Linked DNA regions of Homo sapiens: region 2 is linked to region 1. The links are contacts of gene promoters, found by promoter capture Hi-C in human tissues and cell types (Jung and others, 2019). All regions are on one chromosome and are shown on one strand. Each heading gives the region's core, a stretch centred on a gene start or on the middle of the fragment in contact. The rest is flanking DNA. Distances are from core to core; before and after follow the strand shown. Region 1 holds the start of MECR (mitochondrial trans-2-enoyl-CoA reductase). Region 2 overlaps LOC107984933 (a long non-coding RNA gene).

Region 1 (5,254 bases), core at 620-3,119:
GCCCCTGCAAGAACCCAGATGGCCTAGACTAAAAGTGAGGGCTATTGGGATGCACAGGAGGCTAAAGTCCAGCCCCAAGGAGGAGGACTTGCTGGATGATTCTTCAGGCTTCCTGACTGGGCTCCCCAGAAATTCAGAGGAGCCAATTTGGTGAAGAAGAGAATGTCGACATCTCAATGTCACCTAGGGAGTCTTACAACAGAAGGTTACGTTGTACTTCCCAGTTCAAGTAAGCCTATGTGTCACTGGGGAAAAGGGTAAGCAGGACTGGTCATCGTGTGTGTGCTGGCACATAAATGTGGGGCCAAGCCTTTCCCCCACCATGGGACACCAACTTTCTCTAATAATAAAAACAAGTACAGACATTTAGTGAGCACATACTATAAGCCAGACCCTAGTCTGAGGGTTTTATGTGTGATATTTCTCATTTAATCACAATAACCCCCGATAATATTTATCAAATGCTTCCATGTGCCAAGCATTGTACTAAATGCTTCAAGTGGATAATATCTCACTTGACCCTCACAACAATCTTGAAACAGATAACTAGTATTCCTTCCATTTTAAGAGTAAGAAAGTGAAGACACAGAGAGGCCTGGTGACTTGTCCGAAATCAAATGGCTGGAAAATGGCAGAGCTAGGACATAAAGCCAGGTTTGTCCAAATCTAGCTCACAGTACTTTGCTGTGCTCTCTTCCTCAGAGGAAAGGCTTGGAGATGGCAAGCTTCAAGTCAATAAAATCCAGGAAAGGAACTCTTCCTTATCCTTCAAAGCCCTGGCTCAGTATCTTAAAACCTGTTTCCTGGGACACCTGCATCAGAATATTCTTGGGAGCTTGTAAGGATGTAGATTCCTGGAACCCCCATCCGCAAGATTCTAATTCAGTAGGTCTAAGATGGGACCTCGGATTATTTTTATGCACACAGAAGATTTTGAATCACAGGGCTGGCTCTAACAGCACCTCCTCCAAGAGCCCCCACCCCATCCCACCCCATCCCAGAGCACTTCTCTTCAGACTACAGCATTGCACTCTGGCACGAGCCACAGCTCGATCTGGGGTTTTAGTAATGTTCATGTCTTCCCTACACCAAAAATCAGACTAGATCCTTCATAGGGCTACACCTTTTTACAGGCATTTCCAGTGTTCCACTTAATCCCTTTCTACACTGTGAGCATTTTGAGAGAGGACCCTTCTCCTTGTGATTCCTGTCTTACATCTGAACAGAGTTTTTTACAATGCGTTCTCCCACCCACAATAGCATTCCTCTATTATTTCATCCAATCCTCACAACAATCCGGAAGGAGGCATATTATCCCCATTGTACCGATGAGAAAAATTCAGAGTTTCACCTGCCCAAGGTGGCCAAGCTAGGAAGTGGCAGGGCTAGGATTTGAACCTAAGTTTTCTAACTCCAAGCCCCATACTCCTGCCTCCACAGCAGCTTTCGTGTACTCTCCTCAGTGTAGGGAAGTAAGCTTTGCCTCCCTATGCCGTTACATGGTAGTGGTGATTAAATGAGATAATACCTTAAAGAGCCTGGCTCGGTGAGCACTCAATATATTATGTGAAGGGTAAACTGAGGCCAGGGAGAGTAAATATTTCCTCCAAATCAAACACCAAACTGCAGGCTGTAGACACGACTTTGGACTAGCCCCAGACTCTCCTTGTTGAGACAACAGCTTTGGCGGCCTCGCAAGCTCCGCACCCCCGGATCCCTCCGGGGCCCACACGCAGTCTAGCCAGGCGCCACCACTTGGGCAGCGAAGGAAGGAAACGCCCTTCAAAGGGACCAAGGGGGAGTGGTCACCCGGCGGGGCAGGGGCGGGGCGCAGGCGCGCGGTCGCTGGAAGATGACGTAGCCGGGGCGTCAGGCTCTGTGTTGGTTGGAGCGAGCATGTGGGTCTGCAGTACCCTGTGGCGGGTGCGAACCCCCGCCCGGCAGTGGCGGGGGCTGCTCCCAGCTTCTGGCTGTCACGGACCTGCCGCCTCCTCCTACTCCGCATCCGCCGAGCCTGCCCGGGTCCGGGCGCTTGTCTATGGGCACCACGGGGATCCAGCCAAGGTCGTCGAGTAAGAGACGGCGCCGAAGCCGGGGAAGGGGACTGGGGTTTCTGGAAGGCTTTAACACGAGCTGCGGACTGGGAAGAGAGGGACAGGGTCCGAGGAAGGGGGCAGAGAATAGCAAACCGAAGCCGAAGCCCAGGGCGTTTTTGGTAGGTCAGAAAGACCGTACTTGAAGGTAGCTGAAGACCCGAGAGGCAATTATCAGGGTATTAATGGCTGATGTTTATTGATCGAATATTGTGTCAGGCAATCCCTTGTTTAAATGGATGCTCTCATTTAATTGTCACAACAATGTTTTGGGGTAGTTATTGATTTATCCCCATTTTGCAGATGAAAACTGAGGCAGAAGAGGTAAAATCACTCGTCCAAGGTCACACAGCCAGTAAGTGACAGGGTCAGAATTCCAACCTATGTCTGACTGACCTGCGTGAGTTCTTACTATTATTATTATTATTTGGAAGAAGTTTTCAGAATACTTTTACATCCATTTGGATCTTCATGTGTCAGTAAAGAGTAGGTCATAGATCATTGTTTCCAGAGGGCAAGGGACTTGCCCAGAGTGATACCGCTAATAAGTGATTGGAACAGGAGACTGGAATCCATGGCTTCTGATTCCAAACTCATGTTTCTCTCCACTGCACCGTATATGCATCTTGGCTTGGTTAAAAAGAGCTGCTTTGGTGCCATACAGACCCAAGTATCTATATTTGGTCAAATACAGGCTCAACGTCTTAGTAGCTGTTTGGTCTTAGAGAAGTCATTCAACTTCTCGTTACTTTTATGACTTTGTCCTCCTCCTAAAATTCTGTTGGATCTTAATTCATGCTTTTTGCACGTGGTTGATAAAAATAGTATGTCAGTTGCCAACCATTGTAAATCTGCACATAAATAGCCATTCAGAAGGGCTATTGGGGCCACTGAAGTGGAGCTAAAGCAAAAGCACAGGTCTGGGAATCAAAATACTTGGGGTCAAATCCTTGTCCTAGCTTTGCATTTGGCAAGTTACTGAGGTTCTCTGAGCCTCGGTTTCATCATCTTAAAAAATGGAGACAGTACAGACAAAGTTCATAGTGGTAATCACCTAAGATCTATGTAGTGCTCTCCACCAAAAAACACCTGCATACTCTTGTGCAGTACCTTCTTTTTAACTCTTTGATTCCCAGCAAATAGTTTGATTATTTTCCAAAGGATGGGCAAATGTGGTATTACTTTAATGGTTAAAATTCAGGCTAGAGCTGGGCACGGTGGCTCACGCCTGTAATCCCAGCATTAGGGAGACTGAGGCGGGTGGATCACCTGAGGTCACGAGTTCTAGACCAGCCTGGCCAACGTGGCGAAACCCCATCTCTACTAAAAATACAAAAAAATTAGCCGGGCTTGGTGGTGGGCACCTGTAATCCCTGCTACTCAGGAGGCTGAGGCAGGAGAACCGCTTGAACCCAGGAGGCGGAGGTTGCAGTGAGTCGAGATTGCGCCACTGCACTCCAGCCTGGGCAACAGAGCGAGACTCTGTCTCAAAAAAAAAAAAAAATCAAGCTAGATGTTTTGACAGGTGGTGAGGATAAGCCTCAGATAAATTCAAGGTCATCCAATCAGCCTAGCCACATCCCGCATTATAGAAACGAAAAGAATGTCAAGAAGACACATCAGTCAGTAAACTCCAAATTGTATGTTGATCGTAGGTAATAAAGCATTGTGTCAGGGAAGACATCTCACTAAGGACTGCGTTGTAAGGAACTGGTACAGCTCTGATGAACACTCCTCCATTTCCAGGAATGTACCCCAAATGAGAACCATGTAGTGTCTCTCCCACGGACTTGTAGTTTGTGTCTGCAGCAGGACCTGCCACAAAACAGGTGCTCCTAAAATGTTAGTTCAATCTAAATCTAAATTTCCAAAAAAAGTGAACCTTTTATTAAGTTCTGCTGTGGTGATGAGGAAGGCCTGGGAAAGTTCAGCTGAATGCAGTTGCCTCCTAATTGATTCCCTCCTCTTGGAGAGCCAGAGAAGCTGGAACAGACCGGTCTGTTTGCAGATGCCACTTAGGAAAAAAAAAAGCTTCTATTATGTCCTTCTGTGGAACTTCAGTAATTTCCCTCTAGTTCAAAACATGATACTTCCAACCGGGCGCGATGGCTCATGCCTGTAATCCCTGCACTTTGGGAGGCTAACATGGGCAGATCATGGCGAAACCCTGTCTCTACTAAAAATACAAAAATTAGCTGGGCATGGGGGTGCAAGCCTGTAGTTCCAGCTACTCGGGAGGCTGAGGCAGGAGAATTGCCTGAACTGGGAGGCAGAGGTTGCAGTGAGCCGAGATCGCGCCATTGAACTTTAGCCTGGGTAACAGAGCAAGACTTCCTCTCAAAAAAAAAAAAAAAAAGATACTTCCACAAAGCATTATATTCAACTTTGGCTTCACAGCACAGTCACCATTTGTAGTGCTTTTATTTTTTGTATTTGCCCACATAAAATATCAGACAGCTTTTATTTTATATATATATTTATTTATTTATTTATTTATTTTGAGATGAGATCATGCCATGTTGCCCAGGCTGGTCTTGAACTCCTGGGCTCAAGGGATCCTCCCACCTCAGCCTCCTGAGTAGCAGGGATTGCAGGTGTGTACCACCACACCCAGCTTGACCTGTAGTGCTTTTAGAAACTACCGTATGTATTCCTAGGCCCCACTCCTGAGGTACTTAGTAGGTCTAGGATGGCTTGGAGCTTCTGTTTTTTTCAAAGCTCTCCAGGTGACTCTGCTGCCCAGGCCAGGCTTGAGAACCACTGCCTTGTGGATACAGATTGTCAGACAAGCAGTAATTCTCTCCGTGCTCCAGAAGGGCAACTTTACTTTCTGACCCAGATTCAGGCGGCTTTACTTGTTCTCGTATGGACTGAAGCCAGAGACTGGGATTCTCTTTGTAGTCATGTCTTACAAGGTTTAGGGTAACCACACTGTCACAGAAAGAATCAGGTGTCCTTTACACATCCTGGTAACTGGCTGTCTGGGTCAGGTTACACCAGGTAGGGGTCATGGGACTACCTAGAGTCTGAACAGAGCATTGTCAGAACTAGTGTGGTTTGTGATGCTTGCGCTGTGGGCCACACCTCTGCAAGCAGGAGGGAAGGAATGAGGAACAGCCTTCTCAGGTCTGAATCCTCAAAAGGAGGCCTCCAGGTTTCTC
Region 2 (4,827 bases), core at 2,304-4,803, 280 kb before region 1:
CCAGCCCGTACTCTGCACTTTGCACACATCCCCTTATTTCACAGTCTCCCCTAAGCAAGGAGAATTATTCTTGCCATCTCCCAGGGGAGCAAACTGAGCCCCAGAGCTGCAGTCACATGACCACAGCCACAGGCCATGCCAGGGACAAGGCCCACCACACCAGGAAGGAGGAAGGAGGAGAAGGAGAAGGAAGAAGGAGGAAGAAGGAGAAGGAGGAGGAGGAGGAAGAGGAGGAGGAGGAAGAGGAAGAGGAAGAGTCCATGGTCTCTCCAAGGTGTCTGTGTTGGGGTTCCTCCAACACCTCTGCTCAGTGTCTCTAGTATCCCCCTGCCCCCACCAGGCTGCAGTGACTGGGGCTCACAAACAATTATATTCTGATTTGAGGACAAAGGACTTAGCCATTTGCAAATAGGAACAAGAGAGGATAAGGCACAGGAAGGTGTCTCCTGGGCGTGCCCCTTCTCAGCCCCCACTTCACTCCCAACACACAGGTCTTGGCTGCTGCCCCCCGAATTACAAAGACTCTACACATACAAAGGCCAGGGAAAGTGGAGGTGACCCTCACACAGACACTCCAGAGTCATATGTGGAGGATGGCCCAGCTGGAGAAAGGGGTGTAGCCTTCTCTGACACCACAGACCCATGGTTTGTCCTATGAGCAAGGTCATTGCCTACCTTGGGAGTTTTTGGGAAAAGGAGATTAAAGAGTGAGATGCTACTGATATCCCTCAAGTGACAGGGGTAAAACCAGCTCTCTCTGATCAGGTCTGAGCCAACCCTAGTGCTGAGGACTGAAGGCTCCTCATTTCTGGAGACTCAGAGTCCCCGACACCAGACTCTCCCATACCAGCCCCACGCCTGCCATTCCAGGCCCAGCCTCTTCAAAACACAGCACCCCAAAGCCGAAGGAGCCTTCACACTCACTCCATCCAGTCTCTGGGGCCCATTTCACAGGTAGGAAAACTGAAGCACAGAAAGTGCCACCAGACAGCAGCAAAGAGAGAGTGAACATAACAGAAATTTCTGAGACAACAGGCCTGACTTCAAATTCCAGCTCCCACTTCAGTGCCCAAGGCGGGGTCTCCTTTAACGTCTGGAAAATGTTCATCTCCCACCTCTCTGCATCTAGCCCAGGGTCCTGCACACATTTGTTTGCCTTAGTTCCTCTACCTGCAAAATGGTCTGTAAAAATGGATCACAGCAAAGTTTAAATTAGAAAATCCATGTAAAGCCCCTAGCACATAGTAGGTACCCAAGAAGCAATAGGTGAGACCTTTTCAAAAAAAAAAAAGGAAGAAAGAAGAGGAAGAGGAGGAAAAAGAAGAAGAGGAAGAAGAAGAAGAAGGAGGAGGAGGAGGAGGAGAAGGAGGAGGAGGGGAGGAAGTGGAGGAGGATGGGAGGAGGAGCAGGAGGAGGAGGAGGGAGAAGTGTTTAGCATGCAGCTTCGTCTTGAACAGCGAGGGCACCCGGCCCGTACTCTGCACTTTGCACACATCCCCTCATTTCACAGTCTCCCCCAAGCGAAGAGAATCATTCTCCCCATCTCCCCAAAAAGCAATAGGTGCTTCTTGGGTACCTACTATGTGTTAGGGGCTTACATTCTGAGAGCTCAATAGAGGACCAAGGCTGTCCTGACCCAAATCCCCAGATATTGCATCTCCGTGGGCAGAACAGCCCCTGCCTACACCAGCATACCTGCTGCCAACTGAGCTCTGGTGGCTGAGCTTCCGAGCCACAAGGTAGCTCTGAAGAGGAGGCAGGTGCAGCCTCAGTTAGCAGGAAGCCCCTGAGAAGCTCCTGTCTCCTCCCCTATTAATTGCATTGGCATCTGGAACAGATGGGGTGCTGGGACTTTCCCCCCATCTTTCACAGAACTCTGAACCAGGACATAAGCCATGTAATTAAAAGAAGAGAAATGCAAAATAATCCTCTTAGTGAGACTTAACCATCCTCCCTCCCTTTTAAATCTATTAATGAACTGTAATTGCAAAGACAGACCCTTTATTGAAACCTGGTAATCAATTCACTATGGAGCAAAGAGGTTCCCAAGACCTAAAGATGATAAGAAATGTATATTAATTAGCTTAGTTCTTTATCTGTATAAAAATCAAGCAAACAAAAATATTGGCTGCAAAGCAATTTGCCATCTGCCAATAGACTCTGGCTGCCCTGGGGAGATGCTGGTTTCCTTTTTCCTGAAATTTGTTTATAACTTGCTGTTAATCAAACCTAGAGCAGAGAGATATGTGGAAATTATATGGAGACGACGGATTTCATGAGGACCTTGAGCAGACATGGGAAGAATTGCGACAAACGAGCAGCGGGAACTTGGGTTGCAAGACCCCACGATGCCAGCCCTGCCTTGCTGGGAGCTTGGCAACAGAGCCCTTTCTGAATCAGCCCCTCACAGAGAGAACGTGATCTACAGGATGGCAGGTGCCCGAGGATGGCTGTTCCAGAAGATTCCATATAGGTCGGTCTCCCTAGAAGCAGAGCCTGAGACGGAGATGTGTGGGGATGTGTGGGATTGTGGAGGGCATACCCTCAGGAGAACGGGAGTGACGGAAGCAGCAGAGGGCAGGCAAGAAGCCAGACCAGGGCATGGGCTCAACGCGAGTTCACCCCCAGCCTGAGCCCACGGGGAGCTCTGGAACGTCATCTGTGGCACCACACGGCTCTCCTGCCCTGGGCAGTGAGATAGATTTTTTTGAACCCTGTGTCATTAGCTGAAGGTCACCGTGTGGGGAGAGTTTAACCTCTTAGCCTTTGCAAGGTGAGTCTGCAGTCAGCGCTCTTGAGCTGAGGTTAATACTCACTGCAGCCAGAAAGAATTGGTGCCCTGGTCAGTCAAGAGGATCTGGGTGGGTACCAGCTGTCACGCCTGTTATGGCTTGGGTTGTGTCCTCCAAATATTTATATGTCGAAAGCCTAATCCCTAGCACCTCAGAATGTGGCCTCATTTGGAAATAGGGCCTTTACAAAGAAAGGCAATCAATTTAAAATGAGGTCATTGGGGTGGGCCCCAATTCAATATAACTAGTGTCCTTGTAAAAAGGGGAAACCTGGACGTAGAGACACACATACCAAGAGAATGCCATATGAAGATGGGAGCAGCAATTGGGTAACGCTTCTACAAGCCAAGGGACGCCGAAGATTGCCAGCCATCCATCCCCGAGAAGCTAGGGGAAGACATGGAACGTATTCTTCCTCACAGCCCTCAGAAGGAACTCACATTGCTGGCACCTTAAATGGGGACTTCTAGCCTCCAGAACTATGAGGGAACACAATACATTCTGTCCTTGAAGCCCCTCGGTTTGTGACACATCGTTATGGCAGCTTTAGCAAACTAAAAGCCCATCTGTGACTCCAGCCACCACCAACATCTGCTGATTCTGCCCACCCCACCAGAAGGCTCGCCTCTGATAATAGCCTCCTTATTTCCCTGGAGAAACCCTCTCGGTCCTAAGGGGTCCTGCAGAAATCACCCCACCCCAGATGGAGGGGTAGCCAGAACCCCAGGTCTAGCCAATCAGAGCCTTGCTTCCCCAGCCACAGTGACTGGTTCAGGCATGAGCACATGACCCAATCTGAGCCAATCAGGCTGAATTCCGGCCCTGTCCGTGGAATCAGAGACCACAGGGTGTGAGCGTGGAACCATGGAGCCATCTAGAGGAGAGAGCCTGTCTGTGTGTGAGGCTGGCATGGTGGAGACCAGAGCCAAGAATGGAGACCTGATGATATCATTTAGTTAACCATAAGGCTTTCATTTCCCCCATCATCCTGATTTCTATAAATATATTTCATCCAATGTATAACTAAACTGTTTCAGATCAATTTTGGAACTTATAAATTTAAATACTACAAAAAAATAGGTTGATTCAGACTGCAGTCCAGGGCGATCTTGAATTAGGAAGTGACACTACGTTATTAAACAAAATTATAGCAATCATTTATTAAAGGTGAATTACATACTGTAAGTGCCAGGCATTAATGCATTTGTTTTATATGCATTACCTTAAACCTCACAACCACAACCCTTCCTGTGACGTGAGGCCTATGATTTCCTCATTTTTCAGTTGAAAAAACTTGTGTTACTTTCAACCAGCCATTCCTCTACCCTGATACCAAAAAAGCCAAAGACAGCACACAAAAAGAAAACTACAGACCAATATCCCTTGTTTCTTTCTTCTGCCTTCCTGTGGGTTATGTGAATAGTTTTTTTAGACTTCAATTTTGACTTATCTATACTGGTTTTGAGTATATCTCTTTGTATAGTGTCTATAGTGGTTACTGTCAGTTACATTACATTAATATATAGATAATTTATCACAGTCTACTAGTGTCATCATTTTGCCAGTTTGAGGGAAGTATAGAAAGCTTGCCTCCCTTTACCCTCCTCGTTAATAATATAAATTTCTTAACTATTTCTTCTATATACATTTAGAACCACATCAGAAAGTGCTATAATTTTTTTCAACCATCAAATACAATTTAGAAAACTTAAGAGGAGAGTAAAAGTTCATTATATTTACCCATACTTTTGCTTACTGTGTTCTTTCTTCTTCCTGGTGTTCTATGATTCCTTCTTTTACTGTTTCTTCTCCATTTAGAGAGTGTTTTAGCCATTCTTTTAGGGTACGTTTCTGTTAGCAACAAATTATCTTAGTTTTTCTTCATCTGAAAATGTCAATTTCCCCTTCATTTATGAAGGGTATTTTCCCTGAATATAGGATTCTGGGTTGACAGTTCTTTTCTTTCAGCACTTGAAAAAAATGTTGAGCCACTTCCCTCTAGCCTCCATGGTTTCTGATGAGAAATCCTTTTTTG

What was found. Contacts are between HindIII fragments. The study calls those that stand out against the background at their distance.
Region 2: a fragment that was not itself captured here is called in contact with the fragment with the promoter of MECR in region 1 in 1 of the 25 tissues and cell types used here (bladder).

What each region holds. Positions count from the first base shown.
Region 1 is chr1:29,227,549-29,232,802 of GRCh38, reverse strand. MECR (mitochondrial trans-2-enoyl-CoA reductase) reads left to right here and starts at 1,869. Exons shown (of 10, transcript NM_016011.5): 1 at 1,869-2,072. The coding sequence starts at 1,897. RefSeq lists enhancers at 1,858-1,967, 1,492-1,992, 1,993-2,493. The HindIII fragment of the contact is 4,782 bases long and covers 1,102-5,254 here.
Region 2 is chr1:29,512,307-29,517,133 of GRCh38, reverse strand. The region is part of intron 1 of LOC107984933 (a long non-coding RNA gene); the gene reads right to left. Among named protein-coding and RNA genes, the nearest start is that of LINC01756, 160 kb to the right of the region's middle. The HindIII fragment of the contact is 3,052 bases long and covers 2,028-4,827 here.